2 separate regions of the Homo sapiens genome follow, and region 1 is linked to region 2. Evidence: promoter capture Hi-C in 16 types of primary human blood cells and fetal thymus (Javierre and others, 2016). All regions are on one chromosome and are shown on one strand. Each heading gives the region's core, a stretch centred on a gene start or on the middle of the fragment in contact. The rest is flanking DNA. Distances are from core to core; before and after follow the strand shown. Region 1 overlaps ZNF701 (zinc finger protein 701). Region 2 holds the start of ZNF160 (zinc finger protein 160).

Region 1 (4,155 bases), core at 1,425-3,924, 530 kb after region 2:
GAGCTTCCAGTGAGCGGAGATCGTGCCACTGCACTACAGCCTGGGCAACAGAGCGAGACTCCGTCTCGAAAAAACAAACAAACAAACACAAATATATATATATATGCAAATTTTGTTTAACTGAAGAGGAATCTCATCTTGGTGGAAAAGGATAATTTGGCAGCTGCAAGTACTGCTCCCATATTTGAGAAAAATTGTAACCATTTTTACAAAAAACACCTGTTTCAAAAGCCTCTCCACAGTAACACCACTGTCTCCATCAGCTTAATTTGCTAAGAATGGTTTAATAAATCTCCTGCTATTATTTAGGTTGATTTCATATTCTTTAAATAAGGATGGAATAAAACCCCTGTATCATTCATGTCTGTTTATGAACTTTCCATTCTAATTAGTACAATTTTTTGAGTCAGAAACACAGTAACTCACTCAATTACCTAAAAATGTGGTATAAAATTAGGGAGAAAAGATTTTCCCTTATTGGTCTCCTTTTCTAGAATTTACCACGTACTTTGTGCACATTAATAGGTCACTTCCATTGGCAGCTGCTCTAATCCTGGTCCACAGAGAGTTGACAGTGCATCCAGATGTGGCCCCTGAACAATCCCTGCTGCCCAACAGCACTGACACTGCGGGACCCTCACCCCATCTCCATACATGTCTGGGTGTGAGCCCTTCCCAGGACCATGCCCAGTGCAGCCTCTTCCCAAGTTCATGTCACTCAGTCACAAGAGATGGAATCTAAGTGAGATGACAGGGACTGAGGGAAGGCATGAGTTGAGTGTGAGCAAACCTGTCAGGCAGGACACTTGAGACTCAGAGAAGATTCCCAACTCCAAGATCAGCATTTCTGAAAGGAAGGAGACAGAACAATCCCCCGAGAATATCATCTCACCTGAAGAAGAGCCATCCCTGACTCCTTTGCTTTCCTCTTCCTCTTCCGTGTTTTTTCCTCACGTACCAAGTCTTTAGAAGTCAATCCTGAATGTTAGAAATATGTTGTTTACTGCTCAGAATCAACACACCTCCTGCCTGTAACACAATGACACATACAAAGGTGCCCTCACTCTGAAAAAATATGGTCACCTCTGCTGCCCACTGCACCAGGGATAATAAATTTCTATAAGAAAACTCTCGCTTCCCTCCTGGAGAAGCCCTCACACGCTGCAGCAGTGGGGAGCTGGGCTGGAATGAGCTCCCTTTCAGGGCACAGACCCAGCCCTGACCAAATCCCATGCAGAGGCTCGGTGCGGTGGCTCATGCCTGTCATCCCACCGCTCTGGGAAGCCAAGGTGGGTACATCGCTTGAGCTCAGGAGTTTGAGACCAGCCTGGGCAACATGGTGAAACCCCATCTCTACCAAAAATACAAAAACTTAGCCAGGTATGGTGGTGCACGTCTGTGTGTCTCTGGTCCCAGCTACTTAGGAAGCTGAGGGGGAGGATCAGTAGAGCTCAGGAGTTTGAGACCAGCCTGGCCACCATGGTGAAAACCTGTCTGTACTAAAAACACAAAAATTGGGGCTGGGTGCGGTGGTTCATGCCTGTAATACTAGCACTCTGGAAGGCTGAGGTGGGAGGATTACTCAAGTTCAGGAGTTCAACAGCAGCCTGGCCAACATGGTGAAACCCCATATCTACTAAAAATACAAAAAGTAGCTGGGCTTGGTGGGCATTGGTAAGCCCAGCTACTCGGGAGGCTGAGGTTGGAGGATCGCTTGAACCTGGAAGGTGGAGGTTGCAGTGAGCCAAGATCGCACCACTGGACTCCAGCCAGGGCAACAGAGTAAGACTCAAAAATAAAATAAAATACAAATACAAAAATTAGCAGAGTATGGTGGCACACACCTGTAATCTCAGCTACTTGGGAGACTAAGGCACAAGAATTGCTTGAACTCAGGAGACAAAGGTTGCAGTGAGCCAAGATCACAAGACTGCACTCACAGCCTGGAGGACAGAGCGAGACTCTTTGGAAAAAGAAAAAAAGTGTGTTTCTGATGTGACTGACACAGAGATAATAAAACCTGAGTAATGTGATAGAGACTGATGGGCAGAGGGAAATTCAGTTGGGGGTGGGAGGGCATGGGAGACATTTCTGAGCCAGGACCTGAAGGAGAAAGGGACAGTGCTGTGAGCATTTAGAGAAATAGGGTAAGAGCAGTGAAAATGACCTGAGACGGGAAGGGTTTTGATGTTTGGGAAAAGAGAAAAGCAAATGTGACTGGGGCAGAGGGAGTCATGAGATGAGGGCAAGTTCCCAGGAGGAGCCTGGACAGTGGCAGGGGCCCTGGACACAGGGCTGTGGAGTGACAGTGAGGAGTTGGGCTTTTGTCCTGGGGAACACAGGAAGCCCATGGAGGGTTCCCTGCCAGGGACTGACATGATCTGCTTTAGATTTAGCTGTGACATCCTCAGAACGGGGACATTTTCACCGAGTCACGCTGAGAAGGTCTGAGATGAGTGAAAAGATGTAACGGAATTCTTACATGGTGGCCTGGAAGGGATAAAGGAAAGGGTTGGCCTTATCAAAACTATCCTTGAAAATTAGAGAAGCCTCTTTCACATACCTGGGATAAAGAAACTTCCTTTGCAAGTTCTGATGCCACTGATTCCCAACATTTAATTCTTCCTCACAAGAAAATTACAGTAACATTTATAAAATGCAGATGTACAAAGACACAGCTAGTTACCTTCAAAACAGGGAGGCTGAGTGCGGTGGCTCACACCTGTAATCCCAGCACTTTGGGAGGCCGAGGCAGGCGGATCACCTGATGTCGGGAGTTCGAGACCATCCTGACCAACATGGAGAAACCCCATCTCTACTAAAAATACAAAAATTATCTAGATGTTGTGGCACTTGCCTGTAATTCCAGCTACTCAGGAAGGCCGAGGCAGGACAATCGCTTAAAACCGGGAGGTAAAGGTGGTGGTGAGTAGGCCGGGCTCGGTGGCTCATGCCTATAATCCCAGCACTTTGGGAAGCCGAGGTGGGCAGATCACCTGAGGTCAGGAGTTCAAGACCAACCTGACCAATATGGAGAAACCCCATCTCTACTAAAAATACAAAATTAGCCTGGTGTGGTGGCACATGCCTGTAATCCCAGCTACTAGGGAGGCTGAGGCAGGAGACTCGCTTGAACTCGGGAGGTGGAGGTTGCAGTGAGCCGAGATCGCACCATTGCACTCCAGCACGGGCAACAAGAGCGAAACTCCGTCTCAAAAAAAAAACCAAAAAGGGTTGCGGTGACCCAAGATCACACCATTGCACTCCAGCCTGGGCAACAAGAGCGAAAGTGCATCTCAAAACAAACAAGCAAACAAACAAACAAAAAGCAGGGAAAGAGGGTCAGCTGTAGAACTAAGACATAAGCAAACTTTTTCAATCAAGAATGCTTGGGTGGCCAGGTGCGGTGGCTCACGCCTGTAATTCCAACACTTTGGGAGGTCGAGGCGGGTGGATCACCTGAGGTCAGGAGTTCGAGACCAGCCTGGCCAACATGGTGAAACCCCGTCTCTACTAAAAATACAAAAATTACCTGGGCTCCATCCTCACGTCTTATTTAATCTCTTGTTGCTCCTTCTCCCCAATTCTTCGATCGTCCTCAATCTCCATATATTTCCGCCTCTTATCCCATCTCTGCATCTCTGCCGCTCTCCCTGTTAAATTCTCTCTTCTCTGTTTTACCCCCCGTCCCCACTCTCTAGCACCCCAGATCCCCAGGCGTCCTCCCTGCTGTGGTTCTCCCTCTGTTCTCCTTGCCACCAGCACCACTCTGCTCTGTCTGCCCTGGCTCCAAATTCCTCCTCTCTCTCTCTCTCTCTCTCACTCTGATGAGCCTCCCTCTTTGCTGCCCCTCTCTACCTTGCTGTCTGTCCTTCATCTCTCTGTACATCTAGCTTTTCTCTACATTTCTCCAGTTGCTTTTCTCCTCCTGCTTTCTTATCTTTTTTTTTTCACTTTTGCTGTCTCTTGGCAAATCCCTCACCCATCCTCTACTTTGCCATCTGTTATGGGTCTTTCTCATTCTTCTTTTCTCTGTCTCAGGTTTTCTACTACTCTCTGTCTCCTGATCTCTTTAGCCCACACAATCACAGGAGGGTTTGAAGTAAGACGCCTGCATCCCAGAGAGGCTCATTTTTCAGGGGTTGGAGCTAGGCA
Region 2 (4,719 bases), core at 2,140-4,639:
CTTAAGGCTGAAAGATAGAACCATTTTTTTTTTTCTTGGAATTAAATAGAGTGTTGGGAACATACACTTACAGAGTGCACTTGAGTTGTTCTCCCCGCCCATACCCTGCCTCAGGATACTTATGTGAATATAATGAAAATCCCAAGAAAGTTATTTTACACCATGAAAGCTGTATCACTCTTTTTTTTAATTTTTATTTTTCGAGACGGAGTCTTGCTCTGTTGCCCAGGCTGGAGTGCAGTGGCACAATAGCTCACTGCAGCCTCCGCCTCCCGGGTTCAAGCGATTCTCCTGCCTCAGCCTCCAAGGTAGCTGGGATTACAGGCGCCCACCACCACGTTCGGCTAATTTGTGTATTTTTAGTAGAGAACGTTTCACCATGTTGGCCAGGCTGGTCTCAAACTCGTGATCTCAAGGGATCTGCCTGCCTCGGTCCCCCAAAATGCTGGGATTGCAGGTGTGAGCCACCATGCCCAGCTACAGACTTTTCTTTTTTGAGGTTTTTGATAACTAATTCACTTTATTAATTCATTCATTCATTCATTTATAGGATGGAGTCTCACTGTGTCGCCAGGCTGGAGTGCAGTGGTACGATCTCATCTCACTGCAACCTCTGCCTCCTGGTTTCAAGCAATTCTGCCTCAGCCTCCTGAGTAGCTGGGACTACAGGGACAGGCCACCACACCCAGCTAATTTTTGTGTTTTTAGTAGAAACGGGGTTTCACCATGTTGGTCAGGATGGTCTCGATCTCTTGACCTCGTGATCCACCCGCCTCAACCTCCCAAAGTGCTGGGATTACAGGTGTGAACCACCGCGCCCAGCCTTATTTATTTATTTGAGACAGAGTCTCGCTCTGTCACCCAAGCTGAAGTGCAGTGGCACAATCTCGGCTCACTGCAGCCTCTGCCTCCCTGGTTTAAGCAATTCTCCTGCCTCAGCCTCCTGAGTAGCTGGGATTACAGGTGTGCACCACCACGCCTGGCTAATTTTTGTTTTTAGTAGAGATGGGTTTTCGCCATGTTGACCAGGCTGGTCTCGAACTCCTGACCTCATGTGATCCACTCGCCTCAGCTTCCCAAAGTGCAAGGATTGCAGGCGTGAGCCACCATGCCCAACCCTCTGAACCATTCTTTGTCAGTGTAATTTGGAACAACTTTTCCTTAACAACAGCCAACAGCCCCTCCCAAGAGTAGGCTTTTTTTTTTTTTTTTGAAAGACAGGTTCTCACTCTGTTGCCCAGACTGGAGTGCAGTGTCAGGATCATAGCTAACTGCTGCCTCGAACTCCTGGGCTCAAGCAATCTTCCTGAGTAGCTGGGACTACAGGTGTGTGCCACCATGCCCAGCTAATTTTTAAAAATTTTCTGTAGAGATGGGAGTCTTGCTATGTTGCCCAAACTGGTCTTGAATTCCATGATGAGCCAGGCTCACATTTGTAATCCCAACACTTTGGGAGATCAGGGCGGGAGGATCAGTTGAGGCTAGAAGTTCAAGACTTGCCTGGGCAACATAGTGAGAATCCGCCTTTGCAAAAAGTAAAAAAATTAGTGGAGTGTGGCGGTGCAAACCCGTAGTCCCAGCCACTTGGGAGACTGAGGTAGGAGGATCACTTGATTCCAGAGTTGAAGGCTGCAGTGAGCTATGGTCTTGACACTGCACTCTAGCCTGGGCAACAGAGCAAGATGCTCTCTCAAAAAATAAATAGACCGGGCACGGTGGCTCACGCCTGTGATCCCAGCACTTTGGGAGGCCAAGGTGTGGGGGATCCCTCGAGCTCAGGAGTTCGAGTCTAGCCTGAGCAACATGGCGAAACCCCGTCTCTACAAAAAGTACAAAAATTAACTAGGCATGGTGACGTGTGCTTGTAGTCCCAGCTACTGGGGAGATTGAGGTGGGAGGATTGCCTGAGCCTGGTAGATGAAAAGTTGCAGTGAGCAGAGATGACGCCACTGCACTCCAGCCTGGGTGACAGAGCAAGACTCTCTCCAAGAAATATGTAACATTTTTAACATAACATAACATAACATAACAAACTTTCCCTGAATAACTGTAGTCATGCCAAGTGCTCATCCACAGCCTCATAACTTGTGCTTGTGCTTTCTAGCCTTGTTTACTCCTCCATATATGAAAAAAAGAAAAAAAAGCTTTTTAGTTTGTGTCTCTTGGACATTTTCAGATCTTGTGATTGGAACATTCTCTCTATTGCAATAGTCCTTTTGAATAAAATCTTCCTTCTCTAAGTCTGAATTTGTCATTTACAGTGGTAAATATCTTAATTGTTCTGAGATAAATTATGTATATTATCTTTTTGTGGCAAAGGACTTAATATATATTCAGTAGGTGAAAGTAGTTCCTGGGGCCAGGTATGGTGGCTCACGCCTGTAATCCCAGCACTTTGGGAGGCTGAGGCGGGTGGATCACTTGAGGTCAGGAATTCGAGACCAGCCTAGGCAACATGGTGAAACTTCATCTCCGCTAAAGAACGTGGTGGCGGGCGCCTGTAATCCTAGCTACTCGGGAGGCTGAGGCAGGAGCATTGCTTGAACCCGGGAGGCCGAGGTTGCAGTGAGCAGAGATCATGCCACTGCACCCCAGCCTGGACGACAGAGCGTGACTCCGGCTCAAAAAAAAAAAAAAAAAGTATAGGCGTTTGAGGTTGTCATCTCGCACGGAATAGAATAGTAAGTATAAAAAAGGACAATGCAATTTATATCTATTTTTTAAAAGTTACTGCTAATTTCAGGGCTTTTAAATTACTTAATTTTAATCGCAGAAACTTTTCCAGCATGCCATCACCGCTCCGTGTCAACCCATGTTCCCAGACTCCTGGGCTGCTTCAGCGTCAATAACATTACTGGGTAAACGCGCTAGCAAAAAATGCTTTCAACATAAACCGCCTCCATTCTAAGAGGAAAGCAGTTTGGTTTCCAAAATAACCTACACAACTGTGCTTTTAACTTGAAACCGTTTGAAACATCTACGCCGTTCCACAAGACACTACAGATGGCTCTGGGCGCTGGGCTGTGGGCATCACACGAAATCGCAGACCCTAACGTGTCCCGTCCAGCCCCGCCTCTCCCCCGGGTCCCTTCCTGGCGGTCCCTCTGCCTCCCTCCCCCGCGGTCCCTTCGCCTTCCTCCCCCGCGGTCCCTTCCCGCGGTTCCTCCCCGCCCTTCCCCGGCGGCTCCTCCCCGGCCCGCCCCCGGGTCCCTCCACTTGGTCACTCCCCACCCCTCCCCGGTGGCTCCTCCCCGTTCCTTCCCTGGGGTCCCTGCCTGGCGGCCCCTGCTTCAGCCCGGCTCTCTCAACGCCCCGCCCTTTTCCGGTTCCGCCCATCTCGGACCCCGCCCCGGGCCGCTCGGTCGCTTTCCTTCGCGCAGTTGCCCACAGACCCGGAAGTGGATCGTGCGGAGCAAGCATCACACCATGGCGTATGAGTGTTCCTCTGTGTAGACTCAACCTGCGCCTCGCCGTCCCCCATTCGCACACCCGATGCCCGGGGGTCGCTACGGACTTAAAATCTCCGCACCGCACCCTCCACCTCAGGTAAATAGGCCTTGCTGTGTGGGCCCGGAGACGCTTCCTTTTGGGTTAAAGTCGCCCTGAGGCTGGTCCCTGCCCCCGGTCTTTCTGCCTTGGGCCAAGTAAACACGGCCTTTCCCGGTTTTTTAAACGTTTAAGCAGGATTTTCCTGCTTAAAATCCTTTACTGACTCCTCCTCCCGCCCCGCATCGCTTAAAGTCCTCACCGCCTGCCCTGGGCGCCTCCCAGCCTCGCTCTCGTCGGCCCCTGGAGCGCAGCGCCGCCGACCCAGTCCCGGGGAGGCCGCGCCTCCGCCTGGTCCTGGGATCCTGCACATCCCACCCCTGTCCTAAGGCGCCGTCGCCCCCCACCTCCCTCCTCCTCGTGCCGGGCCCTGCTGCTCCCCAGGCCTCCCCTTCGCAGTCACCGCTTCCCTTGAGCCCTCGTTGGGGAGGTGCCCGGGGCCCGTCCTGTGACACCCGGTGTTTTTGCCTGCCCAGCTCCACCCCCTGGAAAATGTACTCCTCCAACATGCAGACATCTTACTACAAACCCTCCAGTGAATGTGTGGCCCAAGGGAATCAGGAGAAAGAGAGACAAAGAGCCACTGAGAGGAGATGGAAAAACCAAGAAAGAGAAAAGAAAAATGAGGGAGACCCATAAACAGATGGCAAAGTGGAGGATGGGTGAGAGATTTGCAGCGACAGAGTGAAAGAAGCAGTCAAGAAAGTAGCAGGGGCAGAAAAGCAATTGGCGAAATGTAGAGAAAAGCTCGATGTCCCGAGATGCAGGACAACAAGATAAGGAGAGGGACAGCAAAGAAGGAGCCTCCTCAGACAGAGAGTGGGGGAGAGGAGAAAGGATTTGGCCGAGGGCAGACAGAGCTGCGTGGTGCTGGGACAGCTGGAGGGGACAGCTGGTGACAAGGCGAGCAGAGGGAGCACCACAACACAGGGAGGCCTGGGATCTGGGAGTGCCAGAGAGTGGGGATAAGCGGGTGTAACAGGGAAGAGGGGATTTAACAGGGAGAGCAGAGGAGGCGCGGAGATGGGGTAAGAAAGAGGCAGAAATAGATGGAGATTGGGACGATGAAAAGATTGGAAAGAAAACGCCACAAGAGGTGAAACAAATTGGAAGAATGGAGTAGAACAGATATAAGGGGAAAAAACAAAGAAGGGAGAAACAGCAGAAGAAAAA

The links. The method cuts DNA at HindIII sites, captures the fragments that hold promoters and counts their contacts. A CHiCAGO score of 5 or more calls a contact.
Region 1: a contact is called between a fragment that was not itself captured here and the fragment with the promoter of ZNF160 in region 2, in 1 of 17 cell types (neutrophils). The highest score is 6.3, in neutrophils.

The regions. Positions count from the first base shown.
Region 1 is chr19:52,570,900-52,575,054 of GRCh38, reverse strand. ZNF701 (zinc finger protein 701) reads right to left here. Exons shown (of 4, transcript NM_018260.3): 2 at 893-978. The coding sequence starts at 907. Among named protein-coding and RNA genes, the nearest start is that of ZNF701, 2.7 kb to the right of the region's middle. RefSeq lists an enhancer at 3,731-4,155. The HindIII fragment of the contact is 7,533 bases long and covers 1-4,155 here.
Region 2 is chr19:53,102,092-53,106,810 of GRCh38, reverse strand. ZNF160 (zinc finger protein 160) reads left to right here and starts at 3,389. Exons shown (of 6, transcript NM_001322131.2): 1 at 3,389-3,546. RefSeq lists a silencer at 2,937-3,346. The HindIII fragment of the contact is 3,069 bases long and covers 2,147-4,719 here.